Linked DNA regions of Homo sapiens: regions 1, 2, 4 and 5 are each linked to region 3. The links are contacts of gene promoters, found by promoter capture Hi-C in blood cells and fetal thymus (Javierre and others, 2016). All regions are on one chromosome and are shown on one strand. The core of a region is centred on a gene start or on the middle of the fragment in contact, and the rest is flanking DNA. Distances in the headings are between cores, read along the strand shown. Region 1 overlaps BFSP2 (beaded filament structural protein 2). Region 2 has its middle 1.7 kb from the start of BFSP2-AS1. Region 3 holds the start of ACAD11 (acyl-CoA dehydrogenase family member 11). Region 4 overlaps TMEM108 (transmembrane protein 108). Region 5 overlaps BFSP2 (beaded filament structural protein 2).

What was found. The method cuts DNA at HindIII sites, captures the fragments that hold promoters and counts their contacts. A CHiCAGO score of 5 or more calls a contact.
Region 1: a contact is called between a fragment that was not itself captured here and the fragment with the promoter of ACAD11 in region 3, in 2 of 17 cell types (fetal thymus and total B cells). The highest score is 6.8, in fetal thymus.
Region 2: a fragment that was not itself captured here is called in contact with the fragment with the promoter of ACAD11 in region 3 in 6 of 17 cell types (naive CD8 T cells, total CD4 T cells, naive CD4 T cells and 3 more); the score reaches 8.0 in naive CD8 T cells.
Region 4: a contact is called between a fragment that was not itself captured here and the fragment with the promoter of ACAD11 in region 3, in 1 of 17 cell types (megakaryocytes). The highest score is 5.3, in megakaryocytes.
Region 5: a contact is called between a fragment that was not itself captured here and the fragment with the promoter of ACAD11 in region 3, in 2 of 17 cell types (non-activated CD4 T cells and M1 macrophages). The highest score is 6.7, in non-activated CD4 T cells.

The regions. Positions count from the first base shown.
Region 1 is chr3:133,452,303-133,455,002 of GRCh38, forward strand. All of the region lies in intron 4 of BFSP2 (beaded filament structural protein 2), which reads left to right. All of the region lies in intron 2 of BFSP2-AS1 (BFSP2 antisense RNA 1), which reads right to left. Among named protein-coding and RNA genes, the nearest start is that of BFSP2-AS1, 37 kb to the right of the region's middle. The HindIII fragment of the contact is 532 bases long and covers 1,007-1,538 here.
Region 2 is chr3:133,491,349-133,494,177 of GRCh38, forward strand. It overlaps the pseudogene MAF1P1. Among named protein-coding and RNA genes, the nearest start is that of BFSP2-AS1, 1.7 kb to the left of the region's middle. The HindIII fragment of the contact is 5,013 bases long and covers 1-2,829 here.
Region 3 is chr3:132,658,457-132,661,190 of GRCh38, forward strand. ACAD11 (acyl-CoA dehydrogenase family member 11) reads right to left here and starts at 1,353. Exons shown (of 20, transcript NM_032169.5): 1 at 1,147-1,353. The coding sequence starts at 1,295. UBA5 (ubiquitin like modifier activating enzyme 5) reads left to right here and starts at 1,873. Exons shown (of 12, transcript NM_024818.6): 1 at 1,873-2,242. The coding sequence starts at 2,082. All of the region lies in intron 26 of NPHP3-ACAD11 (NPHP3-ACAD11 readthrough (NMD candidate)), which reads right to left. RefSeq lists enhancers at 1,655-2,193, 1,729-1,818, 2,189-2,468. The HindIII fragment of the contact is 2,892 bases long and covers 1-2,734 here.
Region 4 is chr3:133,388,671-133,391,370 of GRCh38, forward strand. TMEM108 (transmembrane protein 108) reads left to right here. Exons shown (of 6, transcript NM_023943.4): 5 at 1,510-1,664. Among named protein-coding and RNA genes, the nearest start is that of BFSP2, 10 kb to the right of the region's middle. The HindIII fragment of the contact is 6,155 bases long and covers 1-2,700 here.
Region 5 is chr3:133,468,676-133,471,480 of GRCh38, forward strand. The region is part of intron 5 of BFSP2 (beaded filament structural protein 2); the gene reads left to right. The region is part of intron 1 of BFSP2-AS1 (BFSP2 antisense RNA 1); the gene reads right to left. Among named protein-coding and RNA genes, the nearest start is that of BFSP2-AS1, 21 kb to the right of the region's middle. RefSeq lists an enhancer at 818-977. The HindIII fragment of the contact is 1,424 bases long and covers 695-2,118 here.

The DNA.
Region 1 (2,700 bases), core at 23-2,522, 790 kb after region 3:
CAGCCTAGAAAACATCCTTTCACTCACCCATTTCTCCAACCCCTACCCCGTTTCAATAGCTTCCTTTCTTTCTAACCACCAATCATTGAGCCAGGTCACTACAAACACTTTTTTATGGCAAATAGAGCCTAGTTATTCAAAAAATGACTTCCCCTCGCCCCACCCAACCTGATGAGAAGTGGAGCAACACAGAGGTAAAGTGAAGCCATAGATTTGAGTTTGGTCCATTGCCTTTTTTAACAGACTCATGACAGATAACAGATAATTAATGGTCCTAGAGACCATCTGATCCCATTCCCTAATTTTAGGTGTGAGGAAACTGAGACCCAGAGAGTGCAGGTGACTTCCCACGATCACACAGCTGGTTGAGAGCTCCATAGTTCAACTCTCCTGTTCTTGGTCCAGAGACCTTTTCTCTGCATTGGGCTGCATCGTTTCTCCCCTGGCTCTGCTTCTAAAGCTAAACCTCAGAGGCCCAGCAGTTTGCAAACTTTGCTTCTGTCCCAGCCCTCCTGCGGTGTGCACCACACTGTGGTAACTGTTTCTTTGGGAAAGGACAGACTATTATAATTATCAGAAATAAATCCTTCATAGTATGAAAAAGAAAAAAAAAAGGTCATTATTATCTCCTCCTCACCCCTTGGAGAATCATCACTAGCCCAACAGTAACTCAAACATTAATTCTGAACAGATTCATTAGTGTTTTTTTAATAGAGTAATCTGAAAGCTACATCTCAGAGAAAACAGACAGTATTTGTTTTAGCTTGGCCAATGCTGCCTGGGCCTCTTGCAGAAAGGCAGAGCTCAGAAAATATTTGCAGAATGAGTGAATTCCTCTGATCATCAACAGAGATCTGAACTGACAGCCAGAATTCCTCCAATAAATAGTTTTGTCAGTTGCAGTTGTGCCCTCAGGGGCTGACATTTGCCCATCCTGAGCATCTCTTGTCGGTTTCTTGGCGGCATAGCATAAATGTGAAATGGCTTAGCACACACAGCTTTCAAAAGCTTTTGTAAAGAAAATGCAAGCATGCATTTAATTACCTTTCGGACCACAGAGGCTGAAAATTAATTAACATGATTAATTTATATCTTAGTTTAGGTTCCTTCAGAAGCAGATCCTGAAACAAATATTGGAGTTAAGGTAGTTTACCTGGAAGTTGGGGAGTTAAAAACCAACAAAATACCAGTAGAGGAGAAGCAAAGAAGGGAACCAACAAAGAATGCCTAATCAAACCAGTTACCACTGTGGGAGACTGACGTGTAAACCAAGAAGAATTGTGAGAAACGGTATAGACTACAGGAGAGGGGAAAGGCAAGGGAGCTGAGATGTTAATACCATCTCCCAACAGTTTTCTGCCATCTGCTATCAGAGTGGCCTTCCAAAGGCTTCAGAGAAACTCTCAGGCAAAAAGATGCAGAATCTGGCAGGGGGAACAGGAGAGCACTAAACTGCGAAAGCCTAAGGGATAAAGGTGGTACCATCAGCATCTGCTAGAACTTATCTGCCAATTCTGTTTATTTTTTCAGTCATTAAAAGCTTAATAAAATAGAGACATAAAAAAATTTATTAAGAGGTTCTGGCTAAGGTCAGTGCAGTATTCATATTCTTTCCAGCTATGGTGTTACGAATGTCAGGAACCTCATGGTCCAGTTTTTGAAGCTTCTGAAGTTGTATGATTCAGTGATGACAGGATCAGATTGGTCCAGAGAATTTCTGGAGGGTCTTAAAGTCTAGTTCTTCCTTGTCTATTTGTTGTGGTTACCTAATGCAGGGTACTCAGGGATGCTTCAGGAACCTCAGACAACATGCCACACCACACTCTAGACCTCCTAGTTAGTCAAGTAAAACAAAACAACTTTTTTTTTAAGTTGGGCACTGTGGCATGTGCCTGTAGTCCTAGCTATTCAGGAGGCTGAGGCAGGAGGATTGCTTGAGGCCAAGAGTTCAAAGGAGAAGTACACTATGATCATGCCTATGGATAGCCACTCTACTCCAGCCTGGGCAACATGGTGAGACCCCATCTCTTTTTTAAAAAATCCTTTTTGTCCCCTATGCTCTTACAAAATGCTTCTGACACCAAATATGTAGGTTTGTTCCACACCAAGCAGATCTCCAAACACCAACTGAGTGTCCTATAATTCAATTCAATCCTGACACTACCTGCCTGAAGTAGTATCAGATCCCACAGGTTAAGGGCTCAGTCCCATAAGACAGCCCTCACTTCAGATGACAAGTCTGGCCCTCCCATACTTCGGATGAACTGGCTATAAATTAGGGGTTCCCACAACCTCCTCTGCAGAGGGATAAGTAGATAGTTTGCTAGAACAGTGCCCAGAACTCAAGGAAACACTTTACATATTTTTGCCAGCTTATTATAAAGGATACAATTCAGGAGCAGCCAAATGGAGGAGATGCTTAAGGCAACGTATGTGAGAAGGGGCACAGAGTCCCCAACTCCAAATTTTTGACTCTATTATAATAACACTTGGCTTAAAATGCAAACACGTCATACAGCTATACAAAAATATTCTTTCTTTTATCCTTATTCTATAAGCTTGTTTTCTATTTTTAAGAGGGGGTTTTTTTAACCTTTTAAACTTTTTTTGTTAAAAACTAAGACACATACATACACATTAGCCTAGGCCTACACAGGGTCAGGATCGTCAATATCACTGTCTTCCACCTCCACATCTTGT
Region 2 (2,829 bases), core at 62-2,561, 830 kb after region 3:
AACTACTTCTTCTACAACAAAGGGCTCAAGCAAATTGTTTTCTTCAGCCACCGCTCCATTAGCAGCTCCACCTGCACACCCTCAGAGGCAGGCAACGAGATGGACCTGGAACTGGGGGAAGAGGAGGAAGAGAAAGGAAGCAGAGGTGGAGGCAGTGAGGGTGGGGCCGAAGAGACCAGACCAAGGAGGACAGGTTCCCAGTGATTTGTATGTGATGAGGAGTAGCACAGGCCCCAGCTTCATCCAGCTTCAACCAATGCCTGGACCTGCCCACCTGAGAGGCCCTGAGGCCTCCCCAGCTGCAGGCCAGACCCTGGTGCTGTCAGAGTCTCAGCACTGCCCAAGGCCACACCTGCCTGGCCCTTTGGCTCCAGCCTGTAGGTGTCCACTCAACCCCATAGGCTTCTGCTGCCCACGCTGTGGCTGGACTAGACAGCACAGGACCTGCTGCAAAGAGTAACCACCTTGCCCAAACGAACTACCACAGGCAGGGACAGCTAGACCACAGAGTTTATTTTTGTATTTCTGCTGGGCCTGCACACTCCAGCCCAAAGGGCTTATAGCCAGAGGCCCCAGAGGTCATGAGCTCTAGTCTTGGGTCAGCTCTTGGCACCCACCTGTACCCCCACCTCACCCATTTGGCTGCATGCACTGAGTGTCACTTTGCTGCAGCTCATTGCTTTCCAATAAAAATGTTTGTGACTTAAAAAAAATTGAGACAAAAATTTAAAAATTTTATAACATGCTCATGAATGCTGGCAACCTCACCTCCACCAGCACCCCACCCCAGCTGCCACCACCGCCAGTACAAGTGCAACACCAGCAACCCCACGGCTGCCAGTGCCCCAGCCCCCATTTTCCCCCCTACCAATGCACCACCACCACCACTGGCATGAGCACATGCAGGAACACCGCCTCCCCATTTCTGCTGGAACCCCTCCCCAGCTAACACGTGTGCACCCCGCCATGCTGCTGCAGCTGCTGCCATACATCAGTAAGCACAGATCTCACTGACACCACCCTGACCAAGTGCTTTGGCTAGCATCTTCCATCACAGTGCTGTGGCCAGCAGACTGGGAACAACTCAGCCCCTCCAGCAGAATAGATTCCTAACCTTGAGGGTTCAGATAGCACAGCCAGGCGCCCAGCACCAGCCCTCCCAGAGTTAGAGCACGCAGCCCAGGAGTGCTGAGCTGAGTCTGGGCCCCCTAAAATCTTCCAGAAATGAAGCAAGTCAACCAAACCCACCATATACCACAATCAAACCAAGATCATCAAAGAAGATAAAAGCAGAAAACCTCTCCAAAGCACATCAACTTCAAAAATTGAAGGAACATCAGCCCACACAGATGAGAAAGAACTAGTGTGAGAACTCTGGCAACTCAAAAACCAGAGTGTCTTCTTACCTCCAAACCACCACACTAATTCTCTAGCAATCGTCCCTAGCCAGCCTGAAATGGCTGAAATGACAGACATAGAATTCAGAAAATGGATAGGAATGAAGATCATTGAGATTCAGGAGAAAGTTGCAACCCCATCCAAGGAATCAATAAGATGCTACAGGAGATGAAGGATGAAATGGCTATTTTAAGAAAAAAATAAACTGATCCGATAGACCTAAAAAACTCACTTCAAGAATTTAGTAATACAATCTCAAGTATTAATAGTAGAATAGACCAAACTGAGGAAACACTCTCAGAGCTTGAAGACCGTTCTCCAAAATAACTCAGTCAGACAAAAATAAAGAAAAAAAGAATTTAAAAGTATGAATAAAACCTCCGAGAAATACAGGTTATGTAAAGAGACCAGATCTACAGTTCACTGGCATCCCTGAAAGAGAAGGAGAGAAAGCAAGCTACTTGGAAAACATATTTGAGGATATTGCCGGTGAATATTTCCCCAACCTTGCTAGAGGCCAACATTCAAAGGCAGGAAATGCAGAGAACCCCTGCCAGACGCTATAAAAGATCACTATCCCCAAGACACATAGTCATCAGATTCTGTAAGGTCGAAATAAAGAAAAAGTTTTAAAGGCAGCTAGAGAGAAACAGCAGGTCACCTACAAAGGAAACACCATTAGGCTAACAGCAGGCCTTTCAGTAGAAACTATACAACCAGAAAAGATGGGGGGGGCCTATATTCAGCATTTTTTTTTTTAAAGAAATTCCGGCCAGGTGCAGTGACTCACACCTGTAATCCCAGCACTTTGGGAGGCCGAGGCAGGTGGATCACCTGAGGTCAGGAGTTTGAGACCACCTGACCGACACAGTAAAACTCCATCTCTACTAAAAATACAAAAATTAGCCAGGCATGGTGGTGGGCACCTGTAATCCCAGCTACTTGGGAGGCTGAGTCAGGAGAATCACTTGAACCCGAGATGGAGGTTGCTGTGAGCCAAGATGGCGCCATCGCACTCCAGCCTGAATGACAGAGTGAGACCCCATCTCAAAGAAAATAAATAAATAAAATAAAAAAGAAATTCCAACCAAGAATTTCATATTCAGCCAACTGAGCCTCATAAGTGAAGGAAAAACAAGATCCTTTTCAGATAAGTAAATACTAAGAAAATTTGTTACCCTTATATAATTAATATTCTATAATGGTAAAGGTTTCAATTCAACAAGAAAACCTAACTATCGTAAATACATATCCACCCAACACAGGAGCACCCAGATTCATAAAACAAGTTCTTGGAGACCTAAGAAGAAATTCAGATAACCACACAATAATAGTGGGAGACTTCAACACCCCACTGACAGTATTAGACGGATCATCAAGGCAGAAAACTGGTAAAGATGTTCAGGACCTGAACTCAACAAAACCAAATGG
Region 3 (2,734 bases), core at 103-2,602:
ACACTCCTACAATATGAACGTTACTATCTCCTTTTTGCCAAAGCAGGACTAGATGTTCAAAGGGTAACTTGTCCAAATTCCACAGCAATTGAAATAGTTGAAATTTGAACTTTGATCTGTTTCAGTTTGTTACAACACAAGGCTTCTAGCCTAGAAATCTCAGCTATTCTTTATTCCACCTTTCCCTTCATCTTCCAATATCTATTGGGACATGGGACCTTTAAATTCTACACCCTAAAATGTTCCCTGATCCATCTCATTTATTATTATTTTCATTTTCACCAAAATCAGTAGTCAAAGAATATAAATGCTAGTGATAAAATACCACTAGCACACTATGTTGTTGCAATTTTTACGCCCTTTCACCTATATTACGGTATTTCATTTCATTAATAAGACTAATCAAAATAGGTATTACAACTTAGGAAACTAGTTCTCAGAGTGTTTATGTAACATATTTAAACTCCCAGACAGCAAGTGACAGATCCAGTTTTCTGAATGATAGGACTCTTTCTGTAGCCCTGTATTAGTAACAATGTTATTTTTAGAATAAAGTTTTAAGAATGTATTATCTATTGTAAAACATCAGACTAAAGCCAGATTCCCGGTGGGGAACGCTACTCTCAGGATCCTCTCACTCAGTTCCATTACCTCACTTCAAAAAACCTGAGGCCCAAAGTGGTGCTGTGACCTCCTAAGTGGAAAAGCTAGTACTCGAATTCGGATCCTCCATCTGGTGTCATTAACTCAGCCTCCCGGAATACGGCCAATCAAACGGAATTACACCAGCTTCTCAGAAAAAGATCTAATGGCTGTATCACAAAAGAAGGCATCTATTTCTCAGAATTTGTAGCCTTAATTGCCTTGGTGAATCCTCAAGGGACATAAATCCATCCTTTAACAAAGATTCCTTTGGATAGTAGAATGGTGAACGTTATTGCGCTTCCATTACCGCCCTCCAATTGGGAAGCCCCCAGCATCGAATTCGGAGGGCCGGCAATAGCAGCTCATGCCTGTAGGGTGCGTCCACTGACTGCAGGAAAAGCAATCAGGGTGGGAGAAACTTAGGAAACCACCCAGGGCCAAAGGAAGGAAAACTCAATGTACAAATTTTTTTCCGCTGGAGGCAAAGGCTGACATCCATACCTGTACTGGGCAATGGTCAGCGTAGCCTCACGTTCGGCCCCAAAGCCAGACAAGTGCTGGTTTAGGTAGGCCTCCAGGGACTTGCTGTCGAACTTGTGCTGGGGCAGCACTTCGGCCAAATCGGACTCGCCAGTAGCACCTGGCTTCATGATCACCCCCGCAGGCCACAGCAACGCGGCATCCACAGGTCTCGAGTGCCGAAGTCCTTCAGGATTGGGGCAACGTCCCCTCTAGAGCATGGGCCGAGGCCGGGGTGGGGTCTGGCTCCAGCCAACCGCACACAGCCTACGCGCCGTTGCTGAGCAACGCTTGCCCGCTGAATCCCGAGGTTTTAGCTCTAGTCAAGTGCCAAAAGAGCCCAATGTGTGTTCGGGTTTCAATTCTCCAGTCAGCGTCAGAGTTGGAGGCCTCAATTTTAAAGAAGGCAAAGCCATGGTCATCGTTGCGGGTAAGGAACAACGCAGAAGCCTCTTCCACCCCCAAATTTAATGCAACAGCAGGCGGAAGACCTGCAGGGTCCCGTTCAGAAAAAGGGCCGTCAGACTGTCGAGCCTAAGAATAAAAAGACCCTGTTTCTCTTAGATACCCGGTTAGCAAGGCAACATCGCTGGCCTCCTGCCCTGGACACTTATCACCCCGGTGCTGCTGCGGCCGGGTTTAGCCGGCCCAGCGAGGAAGGAAGCCGAAAGAGCCAGGTTTTTGATGAGGGGGAGCGATGTCTGCGACGCACCGGAAGCGGCTCCGAGGAAGGCCTGTGGGAGTCTCGGAGACGTGTCTGTCTGTGAGGCGCTGGGTGCACGTCCCCAGGGCTCTGGGCTAGGAAGGCAGCGGCGAGGTGCCTCCCCACGTACCCCTCGCGGGCCCAGCCGAGCAACGTGGGGCGAAGGCGGCGGCGAAGGCCCGGGCTGGGAGCGTTGGCGGCCGGAGTCCCAGCCATGGCGGAGTCTGTGGAGCGCCTGCAGCAGCGGGTCCAGGAGCTGGAGCGGGAACTTGCCCAGGAGAGGAGTCTGCAGGTCCCGAGGAGCGGCGACGGAGGGGGCGGCCGGGTCCGCATCGAGAAGATGAGCTCAGAGGTGGTGGATTCGAATCCCTACAGGTAACCTGCGTCGCCGGTCGGAGGCAGGCGCGGGGGACGAGGTCAGGCTCCGTGAGGTCAGAAGTGAGGCGCTTCCCACGTCCCGCTCATGGGGACGCCCGCCACCCTTTTCTTGGTCTGCGAATCCTGTTCCCAAATGGGCAAGGCCACATCTTAGTACTGATCGGAAGATATTCTTTCTCTTTTTTAAAAACCTCCAGTGAGTCAGCCATATGGTGCTGCTCCTGTGCCTGCTGAGGACGTGTGTCCAGTTTCCTATCACCCTTGCCTCTTAATTAGTCCGCCTCGCTGTGTATAAGACTGATAGTAAGAACTTTCAGAAGATGAGATCAAATATTAAACCTGCTAAGGTAAACTTTGAGTTTCATTAAAGGCTTATCAATGCATCTTAAATGGGGTCGGGGCGGGGGAGAGCGGGGTTAGCTCTATTCTGAGATATTCGGGTGCTCCTTAACATCTCAAACCATTCGACATTACCAAGACTGCCCAGGC
Region 4 (2,700 bases), core at 119-2,618, 730 kb after region 3:
AAACTTACCCTATCTCCTAACCTTGTACAGAGACCTTTCCAGGTTGAGAGGCCAGCAAGGCTGGCAGCTGGAAAGAAAGCTACAGAATTCCCCAGGCAGCCTACAGGGCCCTGGGCTCTGGGCTGTGAGGTCTCAGCCTATACAGGTGCCAGCTTGTGCAACTGCCCCACACCCTGGCATGAACCCACCCCTGATGCTGGCCAGACCCTCAGGCTGCTGCGAACAGAGCTGGCCCTCTGCCAACCCCCGGTGCTGGCCTCTCTGGACAGCCCAGCCTGGGACCCCGACTCCCCAGCACAGAGATGGTTGGCACCACCAGGATGTCAGATGTGGCTCTTGGCTTCAGCTCTCCTCATCCCCAGAGGCTCTGGTGATGATGAACCTGGGGCAGGATATACTCAGTCCTCACTTCATGGCTTCTCCCCAAGAGGCCTCTGTCACCCTTGTCCTTGTGTTACCCTTCTGCAGTGTGAATCTGGACAGGCCACCCCACCTCTCTGACCTCAGAAGCCTTCCCTGCTCACAAGCCACTCAATTCACACATGGTTAATCAACAATATCGAGACATAATTCTTCCTCCTGGGCCCTGGGAGTCTCAGGGATGAACAGACAGGGTCACATGTCACACTGTGCTCAGTCAAGCTGTGTGGAGCCCACCTCAGGCCATCTGTGCAGGTGGGCTTTTGCATCAATCTAAGGCAGGAATCAGCTGGTAAGAGCATAGACTGGCCAGGTGCAGTGGCTCACACCTGTAATCAATCCCAGCACTTTAGGAGGCTGAGGCAGGCGGATTACCTGAGGTCAGGAGTTCGAGACCAGCCTAACCAACATGGCAAAACCCTGTCTCTACTAAAAATACAAAAATTAGCCAGACATGGTGGCAGGCACCTGTAATATCCCAGCTTCTTGGGAGGCTGAGGCAGGAGAATCGCTTGATCCCAGGAGGCAGAGGTTGCAGTGAGCCAAGATTGCGCCACTGCACTCCAGCCTGGGCAACGGAGCTAGACTCCATCAAAAAAAAAAAAAAAAAGAAAAAAAAAAACCATAGACTTTGGAGTCCAGATGTCTGGGTTTGCTTTTGGGCCTATCACTTTACCTCTCTGAGCTTCAGTTTTCCTATCTGTAAAATGGGGATCCTAACAGTACTGACTTTATGGGGCTAAATAGAGGATTAAATGAATATTTCTATGTCCTTGGAACCATGCCTGGGACGTAAGTCCTATATAACTATTAACACAGGATTTTTTGATGATGATGATGATGATGATAGTACCAGAAAAGCTATTTTATCAGCATTCAAGACTTCTGCCCCGTGATTTTGCTCTGTGAACTTCTGCTGTAAAGGTCTTCTGTGGAATTAAGGCTCACTTTGTACAGTTCACCATGCCCTGCCCCTTTTCCCACCATACACTTACTCCAGCTGGGAACTCTCCTCATCAGTTCGGTGGTGCAACCCAGGCACCATCCTTGCTGCCTCCCTCTCCTCTCTGACTTGCACTCTCTCCATAGCTGTCCTGCTGACGGTGTGCTGCATGAAGAGGAAGAAGAAGACCGCCAACCCGGAGAACAACCTGAGCTACTGGAACAACACCATCACCATGGACTACTTCAACAGGCATGCTGTGGAGCTGCCCAGGGAGATCCAGTCCCTTGAAACCTCTGAGGTAATGAGCTTGAAAGTGCTGGCCCCACTGCAGGGAAACCAGGTCCAAAGAGAGCCATGGGGCATCTGCTCATTTCTGAGTGCCTTGCTCCTTAACGTATGGCCCATGGACCAGCAGTATCAATAACACCCAAGAGGTTGTAGGCCCTACCCTGGTCCTACTGAGCCAGGATCTGTGTTTTAGCAAGAATCCCCAGGTGCTTTCTGCACAGTAAATTTTGGAAGCACTGTTCCTGGGACTTTTGGTTTCTGGGAACAAGTGAACAAATACTCAGTGAGGACCTGTTTTGTGCCGAGCACTCCCAGGGCACTATGAAGATGAGAGCTTGCTCCTAAGGGGCTCAGGTTCTGAGATGTGGCTGGAGGACAAACCCCAACATCACCCAAAAACAAAGCCAATTAGGGGAAACACAAACACAGACGAGTTATAGACAAAGAGCTGTGGAAACCCAAGGAGGAAAGCCTTCCCAGTGCAGATGCTAGGAAGGATTAATGGATTTCAACAGGCATTCCAGCAGAGGAGGTAGCCTGAGGAAAGGTGAGGATACGTGCTGGATCTGAAGGGAAAGAAGAATACACTGTCAGCATATTTGCCCAAGACACCTGGCTGGTCAGTGAGTGAGCTGAGCTTTGAACCCAGGACTTTAACCACAGAATCCATACTCTTTCCATCCTCACACGGAGGGTGGCGTAGAGGCCAGAGTGAAACAGTAAAGAAGGATAAAGGCCCAATTAGACACAGCCTTAATGGGGTATTATGGCATTGGGACTCTAGTTTGGGGCAGCAGAGAGTCACTGAAAGTTTTGATCTTTGGGTGACCCAGTTTTAGAAGGATTATGCTGATGGCCTGGTGAAAGCACCCTATATGTGATCAGCGAATGGATAAGGAAAGAAAATAATGGCTTGATGGATGAGTAAATAGATGGAATGACACAGAAAGACAGACTAAAAATAGGTAGCTCAACTAGGATGCAATTGAGATGGCCCAGGAGAAAGATAACAGACATCTGAGTAAGGCAGTGAGAGCTGAGAAGAG
Region 5 (2,805 bases), core at 157-2,656, 810 kb after region 3:
GGCTCGAAAGTCTCTGGACATCACTTATACCACATTCTAGTGGTCAAAGCAGTCACAAGACTATCCTAGATTCAACAGGGAGAGAAATAAATTCAACTTCTTGATGAGACAATGGCAAGGTCACATTGAGAAAGCGATTGTGGAGTGGAGATAATTGTTGTAGCTGCCAATGCAAGTGTGAGCCACTTTAGGATCGTAATAGAATTTACCTCATAACGTCATTGAGATGATTAATTTGATAATGTATGTCAAGCCCTTAGCACAGTGCCTGGCAGTTAGTGAGCAGTCAATAAATGCCATCTATTATTAATTATCATATAAAATTGCTATAATAGCTACTAGTACAGTAACTCCAAGTTGGCATCACCAGCCACCTGGTCACCTCACTTAAACCCAGGGTCCTAACCATTGGGGAAAAAAATGGAAAAATAATTTACACTCTCAACCAGAAAACTTCAGAGTAGTGCCATTCTGTCTATGCCCATAGCCCAGAACAGGCTGCCTCTGTTCCCTGCTGGTTCTAGTAGATTATCGTTCTGGTCACGGGGCCTTGCAGCCAAGGTGAGGAGCACAGATTGGGACAAAATAGGTAACAAACTCTCATACAGTTTTCAGATACAGGAAGTTCATCCAGCCATTCCTGTTATTCTGTCAGAGCGATCTGTGCACACACAAGGCCCCCGCAGCTTATATAAGCTTCAGACAGCCAAGCTGGCGAGACTTTCGGCCCCCTTTGCCAATAAGGCACTATTTGCATTGGAAGCTAGGCACAAATAATGGTGCTTGAGACCTGCTGAACTCTGTGTCCAGTCAACTCAAATCAGGAATGGAATTCAAGGCCAGAAGTCACAGAAGGTCACTATTTTACTTTCTGGAGGATTTTGCAATCCCAGAAAGTCCCTTCAAATCTCCAGAGACCTGCAGAATAAGTGTGCTTCTGTGATCTCAGCTTGTTTGCTGGTGCTGTCTGCGTGGCTGACTGAGCCAGTGTACTTGCCTGCAACAGTAGCCTGATCATAGTCACTCCAGCTCAAGCATCTCTGGGAGAACCAGGCATCCTCTCTTTCTGCCATAATGTCAGGGACTTAGGTGGGGAAGCTGGATTCGGACTTTAAGGGTGAGATGGAAGACACATATAACCTTTGGCTGGGGTTCCAATGAATGCCCTGTTGGCAGTGGGTCCTAAGTCACCATGGAAAAACCTCAGGCCACATGAAGAACTCACCTAGAAGATGGAGCAAAAACTATAGACAGATGATCCAACCGTGATTCTGTGAAGCGTGTTCCCAAATCACAGATGTTACAAATCCAATGTCAACAACAACTAGTCACAAGTTAAGTACTTTCATGCATAAACAAAGAGAGAAAACCCAGGGAGGTTGGAACAAATGATGCTCAAAGTCAAGGTGGCCATTTCTGCATCCTCACTGCTATAGAAAGGTTTCCAGATTCTATTAGTTAAATAATAACCCTAGACCAGATACTGATCTAGATTTATTTTCTAGTGATCACGTTTTGCCTCTTATAAATATGCCTCAGACAGATGAGAATCTGACTCAACATTCTCATATCCTATGGAATTAAGAAGATTTAAATAAGGTAATATGGTGATCCATGCTAACAGCAGTCATGATTCAAGATGGTGTCGTGACAGAATTTTCTGTTTCATCCATAGTGGTCATAAGGGTGTAAAAAGTCTCCTCCTGGAGGACAGGGTACAGAAACTTGTTGCATCAAAATTTAATTCAATCCAATTTAGAAAGATATTTGTTTTTTGTGTGTTATATTAAAAAGCCAGATGCTAAAGTATAGGTGAACCATAGTTAAAACTATTGGAAAATGTTGAACACAGATACAGTTTTTTAAAGGGGTTTATTGATTAGCTCTGTAGTTTTCAGGACATGGTGCATGGGAAGATGAGAAGAAAGAAGTTTCCAGTCTAATGGGGAGACATAGATAGTGCAATAAGTGTAACCATAATACAAGTGCTATCATCCAGGGCAATCTACACATACCAAGAACCTATTCTGTGCCAGGCCCTGACTTGTGTGCTGGGACTACAGAGACTTGGTTCCTTCCAAGTCTCACCATCTGGTGGAAAAGACGTGCCCATAAGCAAGCTTAGCCCACTGTGATAAGTTCAAGAGCATGCATGAGCTTGGGGAGCCATGGAAATACAGAGGGTCTCCTAACCCAGCTTGGTGATGGTAGCGGCAGAGGAGTTTCAAGGAAGGCTTCCTGGGGCAGGTTACCTCTAAGCTTGGACTTGGGGATGAGTAGGAGTGAGTGAGGTGAGGATGCTGGAAGGAATGGAGGAGCATGGTGCAGGTGGAGGAAAGAACACAGACCAAATAAACTCCAAGACTGGAAGTGTTGATGCTGCTGTAGGGTGGGGATAAAGATGGAAACATACTGGGCCAGCTGTGTGTGCCATATCAGGGGCCCTGGGGAGCCATCAATGGAGTTTAAGCAGAGGAGATACAGGCCCAGGTTTGGGCTTTGGACAGAGTACTGTGGCTATTTGTGTGTGGAACTCAGGAAGAGGAGGAACTAGAGGTGGGGAGATGAGCTAAGAGGCCACTGAGGGTACCACAGGTGAGAGGTGACAAGCTCCCAATCCCAGACCATGGTGGCTGCAGAATGTGAAAACTTCTCAAGAGATACAAGAAGCAGGACTCATAATATACAGGAGGCCATGATGGTTGCATTTGGAAGGAAGAGAAGGAAGGAAAGCAGGAACACATCTTTCCCTGGTTTCCAGCTCACATGGGTTCACCCGTTGAAGCATAGACTAGGGGGAGCCAG